Linked DNA regions of Homo sapiens: region 2 is linked to region 1. The links are contacts of gene promoters, found by promoter capture Hi-C in blood cells and fetal thymus (Javierre and others, 2016). All regions are on one chromosome and are shown on one strand. The core of a region is centred on a gene start or on the middle of the fragment in contact, and the rest is flanking DNA. Distances in the headings are between cores, read along the strand shown.

Region 1 (5,006 bases), core at 1,640-4,139:
ACAGCTTCATACAACCACACAGTGTACCTCTTTCTGGACAACTTCCTCCTACTCAGGTTTTCCCTCTGGGTCCACCCCCACCCCATGATGCTTCAGGTTCCAGGAGCTGAAAGACTTACTGGGGTCCACATAGGCCCAGCTAGGGTGGAGAGGCACCGCTGTGGGGGCTGGGGGGAAGGCCCCTGCCTTCATCCCCTCCCCAGAGGTGGCTTCCTCATAGGAGGGTGGGGCTGAGGGCACTGCTGGAGCCTCCTTCTTCTCGCCATGCACCTGCTGCTGCCCCTCGGTCCCAGGGGCCTTGTTAGCCACGGAGAGCTATGGAGTAGAGTCAGAGAGAGAGATAGTCACCAGGGAAAGGGAGCCTTCCAACTCCTCCTCCTCACCAACTCTTCAATTCCTGGAACTTTCATGGTTCCTTCCTTACCTGCACTTGGAAGCCAGGAATGCAGACAAGAATGTCTCTATTTTATAGACAAGAGAACTAAGCTCCAGAGGGGTCAGAGCTAGCTGGGGCACATGGTGGAGCTGGGATAGGAACAGAGGAAAGAGAAAATTCTTAGGAGTGTCCACCATTGGTTGTCACTGTCATTGTCCCTGGGGTAGGGGCAGGGTCTCTATGGTTCCAGAAAAGAGCCTGGCACATAGTAGATTGTTACAAATAAAAGGTTATGTCATTTAATCTTCCTGAGACTTGCTAGCTGCATTTTGACCCCTGCTTTAAAATGAGGAGAATGAGGATCACAGAGGAAGAGCGATTCATCCAAGGTCACAGAGCTGCATGTGGCCCACTGAGAGGCAGGGCCTAGGCATCATCCACTGGGATTGATCCTTCTGTTGCGCTGGAAGTGATGCAAGGAGAATGGAGATGGGAGAGAGAAGGGCAACAGAAAGGGAAGAGGAGAGGGAGAAAACAGAAAAGAAGAAGGGCCTTCAGGGTGGAGGAAGGGCAAGAGGATCCAGGCTAAGGGTCTGTTCTGGCCTCATCCTGTAGGAATCTCAGCCTCTCCCCTAAACCAGAACAGACTCACAGAGTGACCCAGTGGAAGGGGCCTCAGAAGACATCCAGTTGAGTCTCTTCCGTCACTGAACAGATGAGGAAACTGAGGCTCAAAGGGAAACGTCCCCATGGCAGGTTGGAAATGCGAGTCCATTTACACTCAGATGTGTCCCCTGCCCCCCACCCGTGGACATGTTTAGCTTTGGTGAGAGGATTTGAGCTGGGAAGGCCTGAATGAGGCAGCCAGAGAAGGAAAGACTGGGGTGGAGGGGGTGGTGTGAAATTGAAACAGCAACAAAAAGCCCGGCTCTCAGAAAATGGGATTTAGGTCTGGTTCCCAGAAGACTGTGTTAGACCTAAAGGGCCACTGAGGAAGACTGCGGACTTCCTTCTTTGCAGGGAGCATCTGGCTGAGGCAGCCTGGAGACAGGCACGCACCAGAAGACTTCTGGTTCCATCCAGGCCCAAGGACCACTGAACTGGAGCGGTCTTCTCCATCCCCCAGCAAGCCTGTGCGTGAGCTGGGGACAAGGGGCAGAGGAGGCAGAGGTCCCCCTCACACCAGGAAGGGAACAGCGCCACTAAAGGGCCTGGTGGAGGCAGGGTGGAGGTGGAAGGAGACTCAGCAGAAGGGGTGAGTTCTCCATGTTTACGGAACTGAACACTCCCCAGGCCTCCCACTGCCTCCCACTCCCCAGCCCCCCTCATCACCCGGATCTGAAGGATCATGTCCACCTAAATCGAGTTCAGCCTCCACCCTGCCACTCCGCCCCCCAGAGCCTCCTGGACCCTAATGCCCAGGCCCCCGACACACATACGGCACTCCCAAGTGAGGTGTGACCAATGGCGGGAGGTGGTATCACCCAGTGACATCATTTGAGGCCCAAAGAGCTTGCATACAGGGAGAGGAGGGTCTGAGGGTCCAGGGAAGGATGTCATTGGCTCTGAAGCTCCTCTCAAAGAGAAGAAGGGGGAGTGTAGGGGAGGTCCTTCCCCTGTTTTCTCTGCCCAATCCTTAGCAACCCAAACAGAGGGCCCGAGTACCCTCCCCCTTAGCCCCAGGCCCTAGTGGTTGTATAATTCCACAGGCTATTGATGTTACATAAGCCTACTAGGCCAGCCGAGTCTCTGCCCCAGCCCCTCCCCTACAATTCAGGCCTAAAACTGGAGAAGAGATGCTTCATCCGGACCCATCCATGCCTGGCCAAAACCAAAACAACAATTAGAGCATCTTGATGCAGAGTTGTCATAGCAAGCCCCAAGCACAGGGATGGAGCCAAGACGCCCAGATGTGGAACAATGGCAGGGAGTAGGGTGGGGGTTGTTTCCGTGGAGGGTGGGAAAGATGAGCATAAAGTGGTTGGGTTTGGGACTGGAGGGTTGGGCCAGAGGGGGTTGCCCGATAGGCACTGCCCCTCAGGGCTCACCCTGGCACACACATACCCATGCACACACATACAGTCACACCAGACGCCCGGGCTGACTCCTCACGGGGGGCCTGGGTATCTGTGAGGAGCCTTGTAATGCTGTAATGCCAAAGCAGGGGTGGCAGGGTGACAGGGGAGGAGAGGCGCGCCTGCGGGCAGGAAGAGGCCTCGGTCCATTCCTTGACACCGGCCTTTCGGTCCTCTGACTTCAGCAAGGACCACGGAGGACCTTCAAACTAGGGCCAGGGGAGGATGCTTTCGTGGTCCAGAGGGCTTGCTGAGGATGACAGGGAGCCGGGAGCCGGAGGATGGAGGATGGTGCAGGCTGGGGAGATGCCGGTACCTTTCCCTGGGTCATGGTGCCGTCTCTCGGGGAAGGGGTCCCTGAGGCCCGGGTGGCCGCTTGGGTAACCGCAGCCTGCCTGCGTCTCTTCCTTCCTCCGCGTGGGTTCTAGCAACATCCACTGCAGCCGGGCCAGGCGAGCCGGCGCGTACCATCGGCGCGGGGGGAGGAGAGGGCCGGGCCTGGGAAGATGCTGCGGAGGACGCTGCGGATTCGCGAGCCCGGGGTAAGGCGGCGGCGCACCGCCCCCTCCCGCCGCTTCCCCCCCACCCCGCCCCCCACCGCCGCCCTTAGCCCTCCCCCGGGATGAGAGAGAGTCGCGCTGCGGAGCAACCCCAGTGGATGGGTCCGCGGGGGCTGAGCGGGCGGAGGACGCGGGAACTCCGTGACACCGACCAGCTGACGCTGCCCGCGTGAAACCAGAGCCGGGCATCAGGGCCTCATCTCCACTGTCTCTGCACCTCTCTGCAGCTCCAGCTGCGCCTCTGCCTTTTCCTCCTCCCTCTTTGGATGCGGCCCTGATTTCTGTCTCCATCTCCACCTCCCCTCTCATCATCTATTTCATCATCCCTGGTAGAGGGGAAGGTCTGGAAGTCTCGCCTGTGCTGCCCGCTTCTAACAGGGCCCCTGGGCCCTGCGCTCCTGTGGGCCTGGGGCAAGCCAATAGCCACCTATCCTTGCTCCTTTTTCTCGCCTGTGAAATGCACACAGTAGGTCCCTCCCTGCCTTGGTTCACAGAGACATGGGGTGGGAGGACACCTCTTCTGTTTCTTTCAGCCCTGCTGGGACATTTCACGGGGTCTTTCTGGAGACACCGCTAGTTCTGTCTCAAAGCCTCTACAACCCCTGCCAGAGCTCTCTTCCTGCCTCCACGCTTAGCTTCCATCACCCCGTCTCCATCTTCCCCCCTTTTCCATTCCTCCCATGCCAGAGCTCGTTCTCCCCGCTTCCCCAGACGTGTCACTGGGACCCAGCCATCATCAGGCCCCGTTTTCTGTAGCTGCTGCAGTGTCACTATGGGGTTTGCAATCTCAAGAGCTGGGATCAAGTCCCAATTTAGTCACCCACTGGCCGCGTGGCCTTGGCAAGGCCCTTAACCTCTCTGAGCTGCAGCTCCTACGAAAAAGAGGCTTAGAACAGAGCTCTGTCCATCCTAGATTGACTGTCAGACGCACAGGTTATGGCCGTAAAAGCACATAAAAGACCAAGAAGTGCTGGAAGTATGTGAGGTATTATTAACTGAGGAGTCTCCTACCAGAATGTCCTGGGCTGCCCCAGAGCGAGCACCCACAAATCTGCCTAAAAGAAGTATCTGAACCTGCTAGGATGGGACGAGAAACTAAGACCTGGGACAGGTGGGGGTGGCCACTTACCTTCTGCTTCCCTCTCACTGCCCAGGGACCCACCTAAAGTCCCTGAGAAAGCAGGGCCCAGGTAGGCAGACAAATTATCAAAGTCTTTTTTTTTTTTTTTTTTTTTTTTTTTACAGAGAAAATCTTGTTCTGTTGCTCAGGCTGGAGTGCAGTGGCACAATCTTGGCTCACTGCAACCTCTGTCTTCCGGGTTCAAGTGATTCTCCTGCCTCAGCCTCCTGAGTAGCTGGGATTACAGGCGCGCACCACCACGCCCGGCTAATTTTGTATTTTTAGTAGAGACAGGGTTTCACCATGTTGGCCAGGCTGGTCTCCAACTCCTGACCTCAAGTGATCCACCCTCCTCAGCCTCCCAAAGTGCTGGGATTACAGGTGTGAGCCACCGTGCCTGGCCTAATTATCAAAGTCTTTATCCCACCCCTTTTTGCCCTTTGTCCCCCACTCCATAACCACCAATTTTGCACAAACACACTTAAGCCTGGGCCTCCGTGTCCAGAGGCTCTCTCAACCCTACAAACCCGAGCTCTTCTTCCAGCAAGCTGTGCCCTGGTCCCCAGCACTGCACCTGGAGCTCTGACCAGCTGGTCCAGGTTCTGGCCTTCCCTCCTTCTCTGCATCTGCATCCTGGAAGTGTTTTCCTTCTCCTGCTTGACAGCTTGAATGCCACCTCCTCCAGGAAGCCTCCTTCCCCCCCTAGTTGGGGTTAGATGCTCCTCTTCTGTAGTTCCCTAGCACCCTGATGTAACGCCTGTCACGTGGCGCTGTGAAGTTTCTTTGACTGACTCCCTGTTACACTCTAAGCTCCTGTAGCAGTTTTGGTGTGAGCTGGACTGAATGCAGTGCCAGGTGTGTGGAATGCACTCCAT
Region 2 (5,562 bases), core at 1,254-3,753, 160 kb after region 1:
TCCATGGCTCCTCTCTCCTGCCCCACCTTGAGGCCAGCCAGGCCAAGGCAGGGCAGGGATTCCATGGAGGGGGGCTGGGGTGCAGCTGTCTGCTGGTGTCTGGGTGGGGGCCAGAGAAGTGAGCACAGTCGCAGCTGGTGCCATCCTCCAGCTGCACCTTATCTGTCCCTGGCAGTGGGAGCAGCTGATGTGGCCAGAATGCTGAGCAGCAGCAAGGGGAGGGGGCTGGCAGATGGTCACCCAGTCTGCCCTATGCCACCCCCTCCTCCGCTGAGACCTAGACCCTTTGCCTAGCGGAGAGAGAAGCAGGAATTCATTTCTGGGGCCTGGAAGAGAAGGAAGAGGAGGACAGAGTGGAAATGCTGGGGTGGACATGTGGTGTGACTCATAATCTCTCTCAGGAGGGTGAAATTGGGGGACAGGAATCCCTGGGAGGGGTCCACAGGAGTCCTTCTCAGGACCCTGGATTGGAGACCAGAATCTCCCAGGGAAGAGGTGGAGTGAATGGGGATGAGCACAGAAGCCTCCCCTGCAATCCACTGCTAGGTTCTGAAGGGGCCCGGGCATCCCCTGGAGCACCTAGGGAAGTAAGATGCTGCAATGAGAGGTGGCTGTGGGCGCCTGATCCTGGGACCCAAAGTGGGGAGAGAGAAGTCATCTTAAAGCAGGAGAGCCAGGGATGGCAGTGCCCAGCAAGAGCCAGGACTAGCATGGAGTTTATTCATCCCTAGGGCTCACCCCTCATCCCCACACCCCATGCTGCCCCATAGAAGCTCAGACCAGAAGTCCCTTGGGAGGGCCTGACCTTACTACTGGGGTCTGCACCCTCCAGCTAGGCAGGGAGTGGAGGGGCTGCTGAAGGGAAAGGCTGCCCAGACTGCCATGCAGACAGGGGAAGGGGAATCTTGGGCAGCCCCACCCAGAGGCCTGGTGGTCTTCATGGGTGGGAAGGGGGAACATGCACAGATTGCAGAGGGATAGAAGAGGCCGACCTGGAGACAGTAACTTTAGAGGAGGGGTTCATGGGGTTCATGAACTTTGGGGGAAGGGTTCCTGCCCTAGGGGTTCATGGCTACCACCTCCTGCCTTATCCTTCTCATCTGTCCCTCTCTCCTAGGAAGTGCCTAAACTGAACACAGGTGGGTGGAGAGAGGAGATGGGAGCAGAGCCCATTGCAGTTGCAGGAATCCAGTGGGTGGTCCCTGGGTTGGGGTCTCAGATGTCTCCTTTTGCCTCTCTCTCAGACACAGATACACACAAACATCCTTCAGGTAGCCCAATTTCCTCTCTCACCTCTTCCCCTTCTCCCCAGACCCCAGCCATTTCTGACTCCATCCCTCTCTCAGACAGCTATCAGCTAAGAACTACTCTAAGCTAATTGACCTGGGGGCTGTTGGCTAAAGCAATAGGGAATTCAGTAACTAAGTGCCTCTGGGGGCCAAGCCTGGAAGTGGAGGGCTGGGGAGGAGCACCTCTAAGTCTTGGGACTTTGTCACTGCCCAGCTGGTGGAGAACTCCTGGATATGGCCACTGCATGCCCAGTGTGTCCTGGAGGCAGAAGGGCAGGCCCACAGAGAGGCTTGGAATGTTCTGCTGTGGATGGAGGTTGCTTCTGAGTGTGTTTCAGTTTTGTGGAAAGTAATTTCAATTCTCTGGGGATAGCGAGGGAGACAGAATATTCAGAATGAGAAGCTGGGATTAGGGGAGCGTTAAGCTCCACTGGATTCATTCCCATAGCAGACAGTGCCACTTCCATGTGCCAGGTCCTGCGCTGGGGCAGTTAAGTGCAGCACGGAAGGTTCAGGGCTGAGAGCCATGGGGGTGGTACTAAAGGGGGCCCAGTGGGGTGGGCTTCAGAACAAGGGGGAACATGCTGGGGATGAGCAGACTCTCAACATCCAGGGGGAGTCCTCCCAATCTCCCCAGCCAAACTCAGCCTCTCGGAAAATGCCAGGTTCATAGAATATGTTGGTGTCTCCCCAGCTAACTAAATCAACCGGCCAATTCTCTCCGGCCATTCTTCCGCCTTGGCCAACCCCTGCCCACCCCCACCCCCAAGCTTTCCCTCACTTGTATGTTTGGGGTGGCCAATGCAGAAGCCTCTACCTTCTGACCTATAACGTCCCAGTCAGGACCCTTAGGTGTGCATTCTGGGAGGCAAAGCTGGAAGGAGACAGCGAGAATGAGAAGGGGTGCCTAGCTGGGTGGAGGATAGGACTGGGCATTAGGGCTCCTGGTCTCTATTTTGGGCAAAGTTCCACCTGGCCCCACTTCTTAGCTTCTAAGCCCAATCTCCTGTAAGGAGGTTGTAAAATTATTCTTTATTGAGGGGCAGTCCTTCCTCTGGGACTCTTTGGCCAAGCCCACGGTGCCCCATGTGTAATGGATGTGCAGCGCCAACCTACCTGGACACAGGAATTGGACATCTTCCTCATAGAATATTTAAAAATGATCATGAAGCTGCTGTGTATTCACTTGAAAGGGAAGTTCCCTTAAGGAACTGTAAGGACAGACACTGCCACCCCAGGCTCTCCAAGGCCACTCTCCAGGGAGAGGGAGGGTCAATTGTGATCTTTCTGAGATCCCATGAGTTCTTGGATAGAAAATGCTTTCCCACCCTTCTGCATGCCCTCTGTGTGGCTGACAGTTCTGGGGGCCCAGGAGGTTGGGCTGTGCAGCTTAGTGCCATGTGTCTCTAGTTGGTGTCACACCAGCATGCCAGGCTGAGAACATCCCTGGGGGTGAGACTGTGGCAGTGGCCTTGGCCATGGACAGCAGCCATCTCAGACTTCCTCACAACACCCTCATCACATATGCGCCCCGAGCATGCAAGCACACATGTGCACCTCTGTGTGTGTCTGCAGGGGAGTGTGAATGTAGAGTGTGAAGTGGAAGCATGTGGAGGTGTATGGGGGCCCATGCAGCTTGGTGTGTGTGGCTGTGAGAGAAAGCTTCTGTGTAGGCAAACCTCTGGTTGCATGCAGAGCACATACTAGCAAAATTAATCATCTCTTTCAGTTGTGCTTTGCAATTTACAAATTCCCTTTACTTTAGCTCACGTGATCTTCATAATTCTTGTAGGAAGGAAATTATTAACATCTTCATTGGAAAGATGGGAAAACTGAGGCTCAGAGGAGTTGTGTGACTTGCCTGAGGTCACACAGCTGGGAAATGACAGAGTGGGACCCTGACTTCAGATCTTCTAAGTCCGGGTTCTTTGTGTGTGGCTGTAGGAGTGTGTATGGAGGAGGGTGCTCTGTTGAGAAGCAGTGTGGAGAGGCAGGAAGGGCAAGAAAGGGTATAGAGAAGAGACCCTAGGAATCCCGTTCCCAAGTTGAGTAGGCCTAGTTTTTTGATGCTTTTGTCTTTTCATTGCATCATCAGGCCAAGTGCCAATCTTAGGTGAACCCACCACTGGCTTTCCCCAGGGTCACACCAGGGCAGTCAGGACCTCCCTGAGGAAGTCACATACCAGGGCAGCTTAGTATCACATTGCGTTCATGCTCAACATCCTTAAATGGGCGTGCAGTGCTGCCTGGCAACCCCACTGTGTTTTCCTGGTCAGCTTGCTCTCTCTGATGACTACTTCGAACTTCTCCACTCTTCTCAGTCACCCTTCCTAGCTCCTCTCTCACCCTCAGCGGATGACCTTGGCTACCACTTACTTCACTGAGAAAATAGAAGCCTCAGACAAGATCTTGTCCTTCTTCTGGGTACCAAGCCCTAGAAGGGAACATTCATCTTATCTAGGATAAAGTCTCAACCTAGAATTTTCATCTTATTCCCTCTGCCTTTTTAAGATCTTTCTCCTGCTAATTCTGTCTCTCCCTGCTCTACAGTTGGTCGCTCTTTCTCAAGTGAAACCCCATTGACAATGAAACATGCTGAAGATGCTCTTGTCTTAAAATACATAGCTGTAACGACAGCTAACATATATTGAGAACTTGCTATGTATCGGTCTTTGTGCTAAGATAAAAACTAAAACATGTGTCTCTCAACTCCACAGCACCTGCCAGCTCCTATAGTATCTCTCTGCTTCCCTTTACAAAGTTCCTAAAAGTGATATGTTTATTTCACTGTTTCTATTTCCTCATCTCTAACTCACTTTCTGATCCACTCCAGGCTGCCTTCTTCCCCCATCATCACCATTCCTCCTAAATGGTTCTAGCTAAGGCCAGTGGTCACCTTCATGTTGCCGAATCCAGCAAATATTTTTTTTATTATTCTTGATCTCTCAATAGCATTTAAAATAGTTGCCCACCAACTCTTCTGCTGTTGTTTTTTTTTTTTTTTTGAGACGGAGTTTTGCTCTTGTTGCTCAGGCTGGAGTGCAGTGGCACCATCTCAGCTCACTGCAACCTCCGCCTCCTGGGTTCAAGCAATTCTCCTGCCTCAGCCTCCTGAGTAGCTGGATTACAGATGCGTGCCACCATGCGCGGCTATTTTTTTGTTGTTGTTGTATTTTTCGTAGAGACGGGTTTTCTCCATGTTGGTCAGGCTGGTCTTGAGCTCCCGACCTCAGGTGATCCGCCTGTCTCGGCCTCCCGGAGTGCTGGGATTACAGGCGTGAGCCACTGCGCCCGGACCCCACCACCTCTTTTTTGAACTATTCGCTTTCCTGACAATCATACTCTCTTTGTTTTCCTCCTATGTCTACCCACTCCTCTGTCTCTTTGCCAGTTCATTTTCTTCTACTTGGCCATTTAGTGTCATCACTACTCAAGGCTCAGTCTCAAGCTTTAATCTTCTTTTAAATCATAAGAGTACAATGCACCAGCTTGAAAAATTTTTACACTGGTATGTCTTACAGTGTAGTATTTTGCATATTGCATTGGTATAAAACATTTCCAGTACCCCAGAAAGTTCCTTCAGGCTGTTTCCTAGTCAATGCTACCCCATAAGAGTTAACCACTGTTCTAACAGTATAGATCAATTTCCCTCATTCTTGAACTTCTTGGAGTATATGTATCCTCCATACAGTGTATACTCTTTTGTGTCTGTTTGTTTTGTTTTGTTTTGCTTGTGATTACGTCTGTGAGATTTAGCCATGTTGTTGTGTGTGGAAGTGGTTAGTTCTTTTTTGATGCTGTATAGTATCTCATTATATGAATATGCCACAATTGATCCATTCTACTGATGCTAGACATTTGGGTTGTTACTAGTTTTTGGCTCTTATCTATAAAGCTACTATGAACATTTTTGTTCATGTTTTTTGGTTGATATATGCACTCATTTCTCCTGGGCACATGACTAGCTATGGAGCTATGGTTAAGTCATAGGGTATGATTCTGTTTAGCTTTAGTGGATACTGCCAAATCAGACCTTTTTTTCTATCTTTTTTTTAAACTTTATATTCTATTCTTGGGCAGTCTCATCTTCACTCATCACTTCAATTACCATCTACACACTGACAACTGCCAAATTTATGTCTCAGCCCAGCTCTCTCCTCTTAGCATCAGCTCCAGTCGCCAATTTTCCCACTTAACGTCTCTACTTGGATGTCCCTAAGACTCCTCAAAACCTGCATGTGCAAAACCAAAGTCATCATCTTACCTCCCAAAC

The links. The method cuts DNA at HindIII sites, captures the fragments that hold promoters and counts their contacts. A CHiCAGO score of 5 or more calls a contact.
Region 2: a fragment that was not itself captured here is called in contact with the fragment with the promoter of FAIM2 in region 1 in 3 of 17 cell types (endothelial precursors, M1 macrophages and M0 macrophages); the score reaches 6.0 in endothelial precursors.

Annotation. Positions count from the first base shown.
Region 1 is chr12:49,901,011-49,906,016 of GRCh38, forward strand. It overlaps FAIM2 (Fas apoptotic inhibitory molecule 2), which reads right to left and starts at 2,890. Exons shown (of 12, transcript NM_012306.4): 1 at 2,768-2,890; 2 at 120-315. The coding sequence starts at 2,782. The HindIII fragment of the contact is 12,443 bases long and covers 1-5,006 here.
Region 2 is chr12:50,063,133-50,068,694 of GRCh38, forward strand. All of the region lies in intron 3 of ASIC1 (acid sensing ion channel subunit 1), which reads left to right. Among named protein-coding and RNA genes, the nearest start is that of ASIC1, 8.3 kb to the left of the region's middle. The HindIII fragment of the contact is 892 bases long and covers 2,058-2,949 here.